Linked DNA regions of Homo sapiens: all the other regions are linked to region 1. The links are contacts of gene promoters, found by promoter capture Hi-C in blood cells and fetal thymus (Javierre and others, 2016). All regions are on one chromosome and are shown on one strand. Each heading gives the region's core, a stretch centred on a gene start or on the middle of the fragment in contact. The rest is flanking DNA. Distances are from core to core; before and after follow the strand shown.

The links. The method cuts DNA at HindIII sites, captures the fragments that hold promoters and counts their contacts. A CHiCAGO score of 5 or more calls a contact.
Region 2: a contact is called between a fragment that was not itself captured here and the fragment with the promoter of TMPRSS11D in region 1, in 2 of 17 cell types (M0 macrophages and M2 macrophages). The highest score is 5.2, in M0 macrophages.
Region 3: a contact is called between a fragment that was not itself captured here and the fragment with the promoter of TMPRSS11D in region 1, in 1 of 17 cell types (monocytes). The highest score is 5.0, in monocytes.

What each region holds. Positions count from the first base shown.
Region 1 is chr4:67,881,683-67,885,658 of GRCh38, forward strand. It overlaps TMPRSS11D (transmembrane serine protease 11D), which reads right to left and starts at 2,320. Exons shown (of 10, transcript NM_004262.3): 1 at 2,244-2,320. The coding sequence starts at 2,251. The HindIII fragment of the contact is 7,558 bases long and covers 2,169-3,976 here.
Region 2 is chr4:67,722,698-67,727,302 of GRCh38, forward strand. It overlaps the pseudogene LOC100419046. Among named protein-coding and RNA genes, the nearest start is that of UBA6-DT, 24 kb to the left of the region's middle. RefSeq lists enhancers at 1, 322-1,110. The HindIII fragment of the contact is 2,182 bases long and covers 2,250-4,431 here.
Region 3 is chr4:67,690,243-67,694,501 of GRCh38, forward strand. All of the region lies in intron 2 of UBA6 (ubiquitin like modifier activating enzyme 6), which reads right to left. Among named protein-coding and RNA genes, the nearest start is that of UBA6, 8.8 kb to the right of the region's middle. The HindIII fragment of the contact is 2,554 bases long and covers 646-3,199 here.

The sequences.
Region 1 (3,976 bases), core at 1,070-3,569:
TCGTCCCCCCGCCAACTTTTGTCTCAGGTTCTTTTGGACTGTTGGGAGGCAGGGCATCTGATTGTCTTTGGCATGTCTCTGCAGTCAGTTAATCATGTCTTGAGCACAGACAAAAGGGAAGAAAATGGAAACAAGATTTGTTTGGTAGGAGGAGTCCTGCTAAGACTTGTCTGTCCCTGAGCTGAGATATGCTCATTTACCTTAAATCTTTCCATAAACTACATTCCAAATTCCAGTTTATAAATCTTTATCCTATTTCCCAAACCTCATCTCACACGTTTTCTGTAATCTGGTGGGCACAGATATTCCCTTGGTGAACCTGAGAAAATCTAGAGTGACCAAGGATCTGAAATGAGTAACACAGCTGTTCAGGTTCCTGGGCCCTACGGTAGGATTTCCTTCTTCAGACAAGGGAAGAAGGTAGATAAAGAAAGGAGCATTTCATCTTGCAGCAGCATGGAAGAGAGCTGGGAGTTTAATTTTTTATAAAAAAAGCAATCAAACCATCCAAGGCAGCCAATTTTCAACCAAAAGTATTTCAGAATTACCTGAAGATTTATCTAAAATTATGCCAAAATTACCTACAATTACCTAAAAAAAGTATATTGTACAATTTAATTTTCCTTCTGTTATTTGATATGAATACCTAGCTGCTATTTATTAGTAGTAGATACAGGCTATTAAAGAGATAAAATATTCCAAAAAGTGTGATCCTTAGAAACCAAAATTCCACAGAAGAGTTATTTGTAATTGGCAAGGTTGGCTCTGATTGAGTGTCAAATTTCCTGTACAATGATGGATCAACTTAGAAATTTGATTGATTCAAAGCCTTCTGAAATTGTACAACTCTTTCAGGATTTGTATCATTTACATGTCTTCTTTTATTATTTTCCATTGAATGATGTTTTGATATACACTTGACTGCTTATAAGGGCAATATTTTAAAATCAGAGTAATTTCTTTAAAATTAAAATATTTCAGCAAAATACATTTTAAAATGCACTATATTACCCAAATAATATTACACTTATAGATGGTTTAAGAACAATAAAAAATATAATTCATAAACTCACTGCTTTAGTATAACAAACCTGATTAATGTTCTATGTTCTTTATTAGACTTTCTCCCATGTATAGCTTTACAAAGTAGTAGTTGATGAGTAAATACAATTTTGTGATTTGTTTTTTTCACATAAAATAAGAACAAACTCAGTATGTAAATTACTTCATAGGTTTTTAAGCTACTTTAATACATTTCTTGTATCTATTACATGAATATGAAATGATTTTATTTCTTCTATCATTGGAAGCTTAGACAGCTATCCACTTTTCACTCATATATATATATTCAAGTGCATATAACTGTATATATATTTTTATTACTTAAAATGGTTTGACTTTTGATTGAATTTTCCAATGTTCAGGAGATTTAAAATAAATTCAGCTGCACTTATTATAGCTAACACATTGTTCATGCTTTTGTTGATCCTTTCAGCATGACTTATCAGTATCATGTTTTCCTGTAGTCATAGAAAAATAATATGCATAATATATACACTTAAGTGCACACATAAACATACCAAGTTACATAATTATTTCATTGTTTTGAGATGTTAACGTGTGACTTGATTATCTCACAACTTTTTTCTTTCTTTATGTGAAAGTATAGGAAAATACTTATTCATTAACTAAAAAGAAAACCAGAGAGAGATTATTTTCTCTTAAATGTTAGCAAGAACTTTCTTGAAAATAATTCTACAACTATATAAAAAGTAGAAAAATACCGTCTTTACTTTCTAAAAGTGTACTTTAGGATTTATGGCATATTTATTTAATAGCTAGCAATAAAACTGTAATGGAAGTCAAAACACAGAATCCTCGAAAAGTTCCAAACAACACAAGAATTGTTTACTGATTGCAATTTTAAAATCCACACACCACTTTTCGAAATGTTGCACATGAGAAACAAAACCACTTCCTTATTTAAAGATATGTTGTCATAACGCTAAGCTAAGTATTTTTGTGGTTGTTTTATAAAAAATTCAGTTAAGCAACTATGTACCTTATGAAAATAATATCAAGCATATTATCTAAACAATATCTAAGAGTTTCGATGAAGTTTTCAGAGAAGTAACTAGAAGATTGCTAGACACAGTCAAAATTTGCTAAGCTTCTTTATATTTTTCCCATACTGTAAGATATAGTAAAACTTTTAAAGCTACAAAGACAAAAACAGGACTTACCTATACATTTTAATCCTTAATGAAGAGGTTCTTTTTTCTGCCTACTCAACTGCTTTGAGATTCCCACTCAAATGAATGACTCTCATGTATTACGTGTGATCTATAGTTGAGGACAAAGGAGGAAATCTCATGTTAATTAAAATCTAACTTGTTAAACAAGTTTGAGGGAATCAACAAACCAATAGTATGACTTGTGGAAGATAATTGGAAATAGACAGGGAATTTCACAAATTAGTAAGAAATTTATTTATTCTGGTAAATTGAGATTAAACACAATTACAATTGACAGGTATTTTGTGAAAGCCTGTGACTACTTCACAACTGTAGAGTCACTTTTAGTTCAAGAGGATTTGACACTTATTTTGCTCATGTTATCATATTGTTATACACCTCATTCCTCAACACAGCCAGCCAAGATCCATCAGAACATACTTTCCGTACATTAATGGGCACTACCTCTGAATTCCCTCATCTGTATGATTAAATGCAGTTTTTCTCATAATATATGAAACAGAGCATAATTGAGTAGATGCACAAAGTAAGACAAGCAAACAGAATAGTTGGAACTAAAATCCACTTTGTTTTTTTCCAAATATGATCATTTGAAAAAGCTATTCTAACACACTACTACTAGAAGAGGAGCAGACAGAAGAAGACAGTATGAGTGTGTAGGGTGTTAGGGTAAGGATGGAGAGCTCAAGAAAACAGGCAAGACTAGCAGGGAGGGGAAAAAGGGCATTCCTGTCTAACATTGCAAAGAAGCAGGATATAAATTTGGAAGGTTATACTGGGGTTACTTTGTGAGAACTAATGAATGCTAAAGAATTGGAACTTGTAATAGAATTATTACAATATTATTAGTAGTACAATATGAATTCTAGTCTTAGCTTTTTCACCAACTAATTGTGTAGCTTAAGGGAAAAAATTTACTTATTTCTCCATAAGTCACATGTATCTACTAAGAAAAGTGGAAGCTGAATCAGGAGGTCTTAGAGGACTCTCAATTATAAAATTCTATGACTTCATCTTGTAAAGCACTGACAACTAATGGTTAAATTTACTCCAATACTGCAACTTCAGATGTGTTCAGTTACTTGACTTTTTCTATATAATGTGCAAATCAAACAACAGAGACAGGAATAAGTGGTTACTTATATGTTTTTTCCCAAATATATTTGGGAAATATATTTTTTACATACAGTATCTCATGCCTGACATTCTGCCATTGATTTTTTAGCAATAAATAAATAACTATAATAAGATTTAAAAGTTTAAAAAATAAAGTTACCTAAACAAACCATTTTTAAATTTTACATGTTAACTTCAAGTACCTTTAAATATAGTTATATCATGGTATATAATTTTGTATTATGCTTTTTATACTTAATATTATTTCACAAATATATCGCTATTACTAATTTTTATTTTTAGTAGCTATATATTTATAACTTTGTATTTTTATATAATTTAAAACACAAATATGGTACCAAGATTCATTAATTATTAGCAGTTTTAATGGTTGCATTTTAAAAGGTAAATCACATTACATTGAATGGACTTATCATAAAGCACCAAAGTTATTTTCTAATGTGAAGTATTTAGACATTTTCTATTTTTTTATTGTAGATGATTCTTTGAATGACCACCTTCACAAACATAGTTTTTCTTTGTCATCCTACAGTTGAATTTTTCTTCAGAATAAACTGAAGAGGCTTATTGAGCCAAGTGATTTA
Region 2 (4,605 bases), core at 2,091-4,590, 160 kb before region 1:
CCTCCTCAGCCAGGGTGCTCTTAAAATTTAACCTGAGAGACTGGTTCAGGTCATGATGGGAAGTAGGGGTTGGACATGCCTCATTATACCTCTCCAGCATTAACATCAACATAAACCCTAAGTCTAAGAAATTTTTACAACCTATTCTCTCTGAAGCTGACTACCTTGGAGGCTTCATCTGTTTCATAAAATTTTGGTCTCCACAACCTCTTACTTCAACCCAGATATTTCCTTTCTATTGATCCCAGGTCTTTAGATAAACTTAACCAATTGTCAACCAAAAAATTTTTAAATCTGCCTATAAACTGGAAGCTCCGCACTCCGCTCCCCTCCCCTCCCCGCCCTTCGAGTTGTCCTGCCTTTCTGGACAGAACCAATGTATTTCTTAAATGTACTTGAAGTCTCATGTCTCCCTAAAATGTATAAAACCCAGCTGCTCCCTGACCACCTTGGGTACATGTTTTCAGGGTCTCCTGAGGGCTGTGTCATGGGTTATAGTCACTCAAATTTGGCTTAGAATAAATCTCTCCAAATATTTTACAAAGTTTGACTCTTTTCTTCGATAACGGAAACACATGATGCCTAGATAGGGAGTGAACTAAGTGTCTCCTAAGGTCACTGCCAGGTGGGACAGCTGCAGAGTGTCCTGCACAGCACCTTGCAGACCTCCCATGGCTGCCTGCTCTGTAGGGCCTCAGGAGGGCTGCATGGCATGCTGCAGGCCTAGGCCCAGCAGGTGTGCAGCCAGAGTGCTGCACTCTCTGCTGGTGACAAAGAAGAAATTACTTAGGCCAATAGTAAGGGTATGGGAGTCCTCAGTAAGGCTTTTCTTTTAACGAAAAGCAGCCGCAAATCATTTTCTAACAAAGGGCAGCCTGTAAAGTTGAACTGCAGACACAGACAAGCAAGTTGGGAGCTTGCAGGGGTGAATGCTGGCAGGAACTAGGGACTAGATACGTTCAAGATGGCGGTTCCATCTTCCCTTCTCTGCCAGCCAGTGTACAGTAAGGAACAGACAAGATGGCGCTGGGATCAACTGGAAAGTCCATTTGCATAATAAGATTAGGGTGGGGAAACCAGCCTTTCTCACTCGCAATGTAAAAGTCATACCTGATCGAACCAATCTGTGAGCCCTATGTAAATCAGACACTGCCTCCTCAAACCTGACTGAAAAATCAGGTGCGTTGGCCAACCAGCCAGCCCTTTCAGCTCAGAGACCCCTCTCTCTATAAAGAGAGCTGTTTCTCTTTCTTTTCTCTTCTGCCTATTAAACCTCCTCTCCAAACTTCCTGGTGTGTGTCCGTGTTCTAAATTTTCCTGGCATGCAATGACGAGCTCCAGGATATATATCCCAGACAATGTAGCTGCTTTACTGGGTCAGCCAGGCAGAGCAGCAGGCAGGGCAGCTGCAGGCGTGCCCAGGGGCACTGGGTGGCGCTCTGGCCTCACTGCCTCTCCCAGCGAGTGATAGCAGCCCAGCTTGCAGATGGCCTCCAGCTGAGGCATCCAGCACTTGGGGCGTCACTCAGCTCTGCGGCCTCCGCTGCTTGGGACCAGCCTGCGGCCGACACCACTATCTTCCTACTTTATTGTTTGACTTAACTACTTAAGCAACAGTGACTGGAGACAAAATATAATAACTTCAAAATATAATAATAAATGTGTATAAAATAAAATGACTTTCTAGGCTTTATGGTATAAATGCATCAGGATCTGCCTGCTAATGCAGCTAGACTGTAGTATGTAAGAGGAAGAGTGTTCAAAATAAAACTAGAGAGGAGCCTAAATAAAACTAGAGAGTTCAAAATAAAACTAGAGAGGAGCCAAAATAAAAAGAGTGTTCAAAATAAAACTAGAGAGGAGCCGAGTTACTTGGGAATTTGTAAATACAACAGGTATTTCAGGTTCAAGTTCAGGGATGATAGCCTTTCCTTCTTAAGCCTATTCTTTTTTTTTTTTTTTTTTTTTTAGACGGAATCTCACTCTGTTGCCCAGGCTGGAGTGCAGTGGTGAGATCTTGGCTCGCTGCAACCTCTGCCTCCAAGATTCAATTGATTCTCCTGCCTCAGCTTCCTGAGTAGCTGGGATTACAGGTGCCCTCCATGGATCTCAGATAATTTTTGTACTTTTAGTATAGGGGGGTTTCACCATGTTCGCTAGGCTGGCTTGAACTCCTGATCAAGTGATCCACCTGTCTGGGCCTCCCCAAGTGCTGGGATTACAGGTGTGAGCCACCACACTGAGCCTTAAGCTTATTCTTTCTGTCATCTCTCTCCATACACACTCATGCATACACACATCTATATGTCATTCTGTTTGTTAAAGCCTTTACTTTCATGGATGAAAATAGAAAAAAATTTGTAGGTACACAAGAGTTATGCAGGAGCAATCACATTTGAAAGTAAAGACAATCTAATCAGACACTGATGACTTAAGTTAAAGATAAACTGTGCTAAGATGTGGCAAGTTAAAGGGAATAGACAACTTATATTTCTCTCCTTCTTTCCCTGATCCTCTGAAATCCACATTGCCTTATAATCTTTCCCTAGGCCATCCATGCTTCTGAATACTCCCCTTCTTTCATCTCTTCACCCTTATACACAGTGAACAAAGGCACTCTTGGCATGACCAACTTGCGGTCTAGGCAAGTCCAGGCTTCAGCTATGACTGCAGTATTGCTCCATGAGCACACAACTGCATTTACTTTGGCAGTCTCTACTAGAACTGCAGTGGGACACTGATAATTGATTCCAACCTTGAAGCCAGAGAGGCACAGATCTGCAAATTTGTCTTGATGGTGGCAATGCAGCCTTCATATTTGTGGAAACCATATTACACTGATATAGTAATAATGTATTATTACCATAATACTATACAATAGGTAGTGAGCCATACATTTATCATTTCAAGTGTCACATATCATCTGGTTGGCTAGCTCAGAGCAAGCATTAGTTATCTCTGCTACAGAAAATGTTTGTGGTAGGTTTTCCCAGCAGAGATAGCTGGATATATACACGGAGGGAAGTAGACATAAAGATAGAGAATAAGTATAAAATTTTGATATATTGACATTCAAGGCACCATGAAATCTGAGAGAAACAATGATGGAGAATACACACTGGTTGAAAATGTGCTTAAGGTTATTGTGTATTGGGTGCTCAATATTAAGGTTTCTACATAAATATTATAGATGGCCTCATTATCTAATATGAAGACACAATCAAAGTGCTAAAGAGTTGATGGAATTGAAGACCTCAGCTTCAGCTAAGGAAAGCTAAGGAGCTGGGTAAATGGAGAATTTTGCTCCTATAATCAACTGATAGAGATTCTATCAACAGAAAGGCAAATAAAAACTGTAGTTACCACCAACCAGCAAAAATTCAAGAAAGCCTGAAGACCTGTACTTAAGTCAGCTAGCTTCTGAATCCAATCCAACACTTAGTCAATGCTTTCCTTTTCAACGGTGTAGTGACTAGAGGCAAAGCTATTTGATGCATCTTCTTTGCTAGTGATCGCTTCCTAAGGCAAACTTCATCACCACGTATTGGCTCTAGGTCCACAAACAATTTTGTGGAGCCATGCTTGACCACAATAGTCCCGTTGAAGAAGGTATTAAAGGAGTCATCTTCTCTCAGAATGCTCTTATTGTTTGGCATTGGATTTGGGCTAAATTTTGTATTCCAGGCATTAGAGCTCCTACCAGTTATTTACATTATTTACAATCTGGATAATACCCTCACTGATGTAATTAGGGATGCTTTAATGCATAGTGGCAGGGATAGGAAGTAAAGATGTGAGAGCAAATATTAAGTCCAGGTTATCATCTCCGACTAACTGAGAATCAAAGTATCTATTTTTATGAAGCAGTGAAATGACAGTTTTAGTATGCCAAGAGGTAAACACTACTCAGAAAAGTTTTCCTACATGTTCTTTATTATCAAATAAAGATAATAATAATAATAATAATAATAATAATTTAAAAATTACCTGCATGAATTCTTAGCCCTCTGCTGGTGAGATTCTGTCGTTATTTCTATGTCTTGGGAAATTGAAGATGAAGGAAATAGGTAATAAATAGATTTTACACCATAAAGTTTTGTGGATAGATCTGATGAATGCTTTAAATGCCAGATGGTCCCATTACTTTTATTACTTCCACTGGACAGAAATGATGGACATTGATGACACCTAATTGCAAACTCTATTTAGTTGCTGAAAGTGTGACAGACACCATACACCTTGTTTCTTAATAGATCTCCTTTCTTCTTGCTAACGGGACCCCACTTTTGTTCAGATATAGTGCTGCCATGAGCTTCATGGCAGGCTGTTTTTCCCTAGCTCTGCACACTGAGTTATGACTGTGAAACTGTCCCTATCAACTGCATAAAATTAGCCAGGGAAGAAGGGAAGGAGAGAAACAAAAACGAACCAAGCTTGTAGCACATTCAGCATTAATCATTAGGTCAGCTTGCTGTCTGACCTGCTTCCTCATGGTTGTTTCCTGCCTATTGCCCCAGAATCACGTAGACCCTGTCACAAGATTATAGTTCCCCTAGATAACATCTTAAGCATTGTGAAGCTTTTATCCATTTGAGATATTCTTTC
Region 3 (4,259 bases), core at 673-3,172, 190 kb before region 1:
ACTAGATTTCCAAATGCAAAAGAATGAAACTGGACCCTTATACCATACAAAATAATCAAATCAAAATGAATCAAAGACTTAAATGTAAGATCTGCAACTATAAAACTCCCAGAAGAAAACAGGAAAGAGGCCTCATAACACTGGTGTTGGCACAGATTTCCTGGATAACACCAAAGGCACACACAACAAAAGCAAAAATTGTCAAGTGGGACTATATGAAACTAAAAACCAGTAAAGGAAACAGTCAACAAAATCAAAAGACAACCTACAGAATGAGAGAAAGTATTTATAAACCATGTATGTGATAAGGGGTTAATAATATCCAAAGGAATGCCTATAACTCAATACCAAAAAACCCCTGAACTGACCCAATTTTTAAAAATGGACAAAGAGTTTGAATAGATCTTTCTCCAAAAACATGCACATAGCCAACAAGTATATGAAAAGGTGCTCAACATTCACTAATCATCAAATACAAACCAAAACCACAATGAGAGATCACCTCACACCTGTATGGATGACCATTATAAAACAAAACAAAACAAAACAAAACATAACAAGTATTGGCAACAATGTGGAGAAATTGGAACTTTTGTGCACTGTTGGAAATGTAGAATGGTGCAGCTGCCATGGAAAACAGTATGAAGCTTCCTCAAAAATTAAAAAATAGAATTACCACATAATCCAGCAATTCCATTTTGGGTTATTTCTCCAAAAGAATTAGAAACAAGATCTTGAAGAAATATTTGCTACACAGATCTGCTATATGACAATGTACACAGAGTTAAAAATATAGTTGTCCCGTGAACAACATGGGTTTCAAACACACAGGTCCATTTATATGCAGATTTTTTTCAATAAATATACTGAAAATTTTTTTGGACATTTGTGACAACTTGAAAAAAACTCACGGATGAACTTTGTAGCCTAGAAATACCCAAAAATTAAGAAAATGTCATGAATGCATGAAATCTATGTACATATTAGTCTATTTTATCATTTACTACCATAAAATATACACAAATTATAAAAAGTTAAAATTTATCAAAACTATGCGTACACTTACAGACCATAGATGTCGCCATTTGCAGTTAAGAGGAATGTAAACAGATGTAAAGATGCAGTATTCAGTCATAAGTGCATAAAAGTCACTGTAGTACATACTGCACTACTGTAATAATTTTGTAGCTACTTCCAGTTGCTATTGTGGTGAGCTTAAGTGATGTATCTGGTTAAAGCACATGTGACTCTATTCATCTTTGCCTGAGCAGTTCCTCTCTCCAGTAAATTGAATATTGCAGGAAAAAGTGATGTCTTGAGATTCTTGCATATTTTTTCATCATGTTTAATGTGCAATACTGTAAACCTTGAATGACATCATGGGACCCATACAAAGTGCCACCAGTAATGTTGCAAGTGCTCCCAAGAAGCTGAGAAAAGTCATGACATTACAATAAAAAGTTGAATTGCTTGATTATGTACTGTAGACTGAGGTCTGCAGCTATGGTTGCCTGACATTTCAAGATAAAATGAATCCAGTGGAAGGACCATTGTAAAAAAAAAAAAGAAAAGCCATCATTGTAACTACACCAGCAAGTATGAAAACCTTACACTTTTTGTGAAAGATTTTTTTATCTTATATTGAAAATGCAGCACTGATATGGGTGCAGGATTGCTGAAAGAAAGTCATAGACTCTAACATGATTTGAGAAAAAGCGAAGTCATTATAAGACCACTTAAAGCAAAAAGAAGGTAAAGGATATAAAGCTGTAGAATTCTTTTTTTTCCATAGGTTACTGGGGTACACAGGTGGTGTTTGGTTACTTAAGTTCTTTAGTGGTGATTTGTGCGATTTTGGTGCACCCATCACCCAAGCAGTAAAGCTGTAGAATTTAATGCCAGCAAAGGATAGTTTGATAACTTTAGAAAGAGGTTTGTCTTAAAAAAAAGTCAGACACAACATGAGAAGCAGCTTCTGCCGATCAAGAGGCAGCAATGAGTTTCTAGACGCCATAAGGAAAATCACTGAAGAGAAAGGATATCTACCTGAATAGGTTTTTAATGTAGAAGAAAGTGCTCTATTTTGAAAAAAATTGCCACAAAGGACATTTATTAGTAAGGAAGAGAAGCAAGCACCAGGATTTAAGGCAGAAATGGATAGTTAACTCTACTGTTTTCTGCAAATGCTTTCAGGTTTATGATCAGGACTGCCCTTACATATAAAGCTGCTAACCCCTGAGCATTGGAGGGAAAAGATAAACACCAGCGGCCAGTCCTCCGGCTACATAACAAGCAGGCCTGGACAAGAACCCTTTTTCTGGATTGGTTCCATTGATGCTTTGATTCTGAGGTCAGGAAGTACCTTGCCAGCAAGAACTTTTAAAGTTCTTTTGCTATTGGACAATACACCTGGCCACCCAGAACCCCAAAGTTCAACAATGAAGGTGCTGAAGTGGTTTACTTGCTTCAAAACACAACATCTCAAATTCAGCTTCTAGATCAGGGCATCATAAAGGACCTTTAAGGCTCATTACACAAGGTACTCTATAGAAAGGATTGTCAATGCTATGGAAGAGAACCCCAAGAAAGAGAACATCATTAAAGTCTGGAAGATTATACCATTGAAGATGCTATCGTTGTTACTGACATCAGACAATCTGGCAGAAGGGTTCCGACGATTCAAGATTGCATTGATTTCTTTAATGACATGGACCCTTCTACAACAGGGGCACCAAAAAGAAACTAAAGAAAATGACAGGAGGATCAGTATTGTATAGAAACATTTTTCCAGAAATGAGAAAGCAAAAAAAGTCACATAGTAGTTACATATTTCCATAGTTACACTGTGTGTGCCTGCCTCTCTTTCCCTACCCTTCTGCCTCCACCTCTTTTGATTCTGCCACCCCTAAGACAACAAAACCAACTCCTCCCCTTCCTCCTCCTCAGCCTACTCAACATGAAGACAACAAAGATGAAGACCTTTATGATAATCCAGTTCCATCTAATGAACAATAAATATATTTTCTCTTTCTTACATGATTTTCTTAACATTTTATTTTCTCTAGCTTACTTTATTCTAAGAATACTGTGTATATATATATATACAGTATATAATACATATAATATTAAAAATGTGTGTTAATTGATTATTTACATTATCAGTAAAATTTCCAGTCAATAGTAAGGCTATTAGCATTTAAGCTTTGGGAGAGTCAAAAGTCATATGTGGATTTTCGACTGCACAAGAGGTAGGGTGGTAGGGGAGTTGGCACTCCTAACTCCTTCATTGTTCAAGTGTCAACTATACTATACTACACACTTAAAAACTTGTTAGTAGGGTAGAGTTCATGTTATGTGTTTTTACTACAATAATAACTTTTTAGAAGGTAAGTTGGAGTTATGTTCAAAATAACTCGGTAAGCTATAGTATTTGGACTTGTACTATGAGACAAAATGGTCGGAACTGTGGCTGTGTGAAAGAGAACGGAGAGAAAAGAGAACTTCTGGAATTTATCTTTATCTTACCCTACCTTCATCAAGCTTACTGATGAAATCTATCTCCCTGAGATATTAAGAGGCTAAGGATCCTCATTTCATGCCTTGTCCCTAAAATAAATCATTGTCCAAAGTCCTAGGTCTTATACTAGTCCCCATAAGCAACAGATACAGATTTTTAAAAAGAGAAAATACAGCTGGGCACGGTGGCTCGCGCCTGTAATCCCAGCACTTTGGGAAGCCAAGGTGGGCAGATCATGAGGTCAAGAGACTGAGATCATCCTGGCCAACATGGTGAAACCCCGCCTCTACTAAAAAAAATACAAAAATTAGCTGGGTGTGGTGGTGCATGCCTGTAGTCCCAGCTACTCAGGAGGCTGAGGCAGGAGAATTGCTTGAACCCAAGAGGCGGAGGTTGCCATGAGCCGAGATCGCGCCACTGCACTCCAGCCTGGATGACAGAGCAAGACTCCATCTCAAAAAAAAAAAAAAAAAAAAAAAAAAAAAGAAAAAATACAAAACTACCAAATCTTCAGATTCAGTCACTATAAAAAAAAAAACCCTCAAACATTTAAGTTAATTTTTAAAATCTAAGAAAATAAGAGCTGGTTATTGTGTGAAAATCTCACATTTTGGCATTTTGGTCTTTGTATTTCTTTTTTTTTTTTTCTTGACATGGAGTTTTGCTCTGTAGCCCAGGCTGGAACACAGTGGTGCCATCTCAGCTCACTGCAAGCTCTGCCTCCCCGGTTCATGCCATTCTC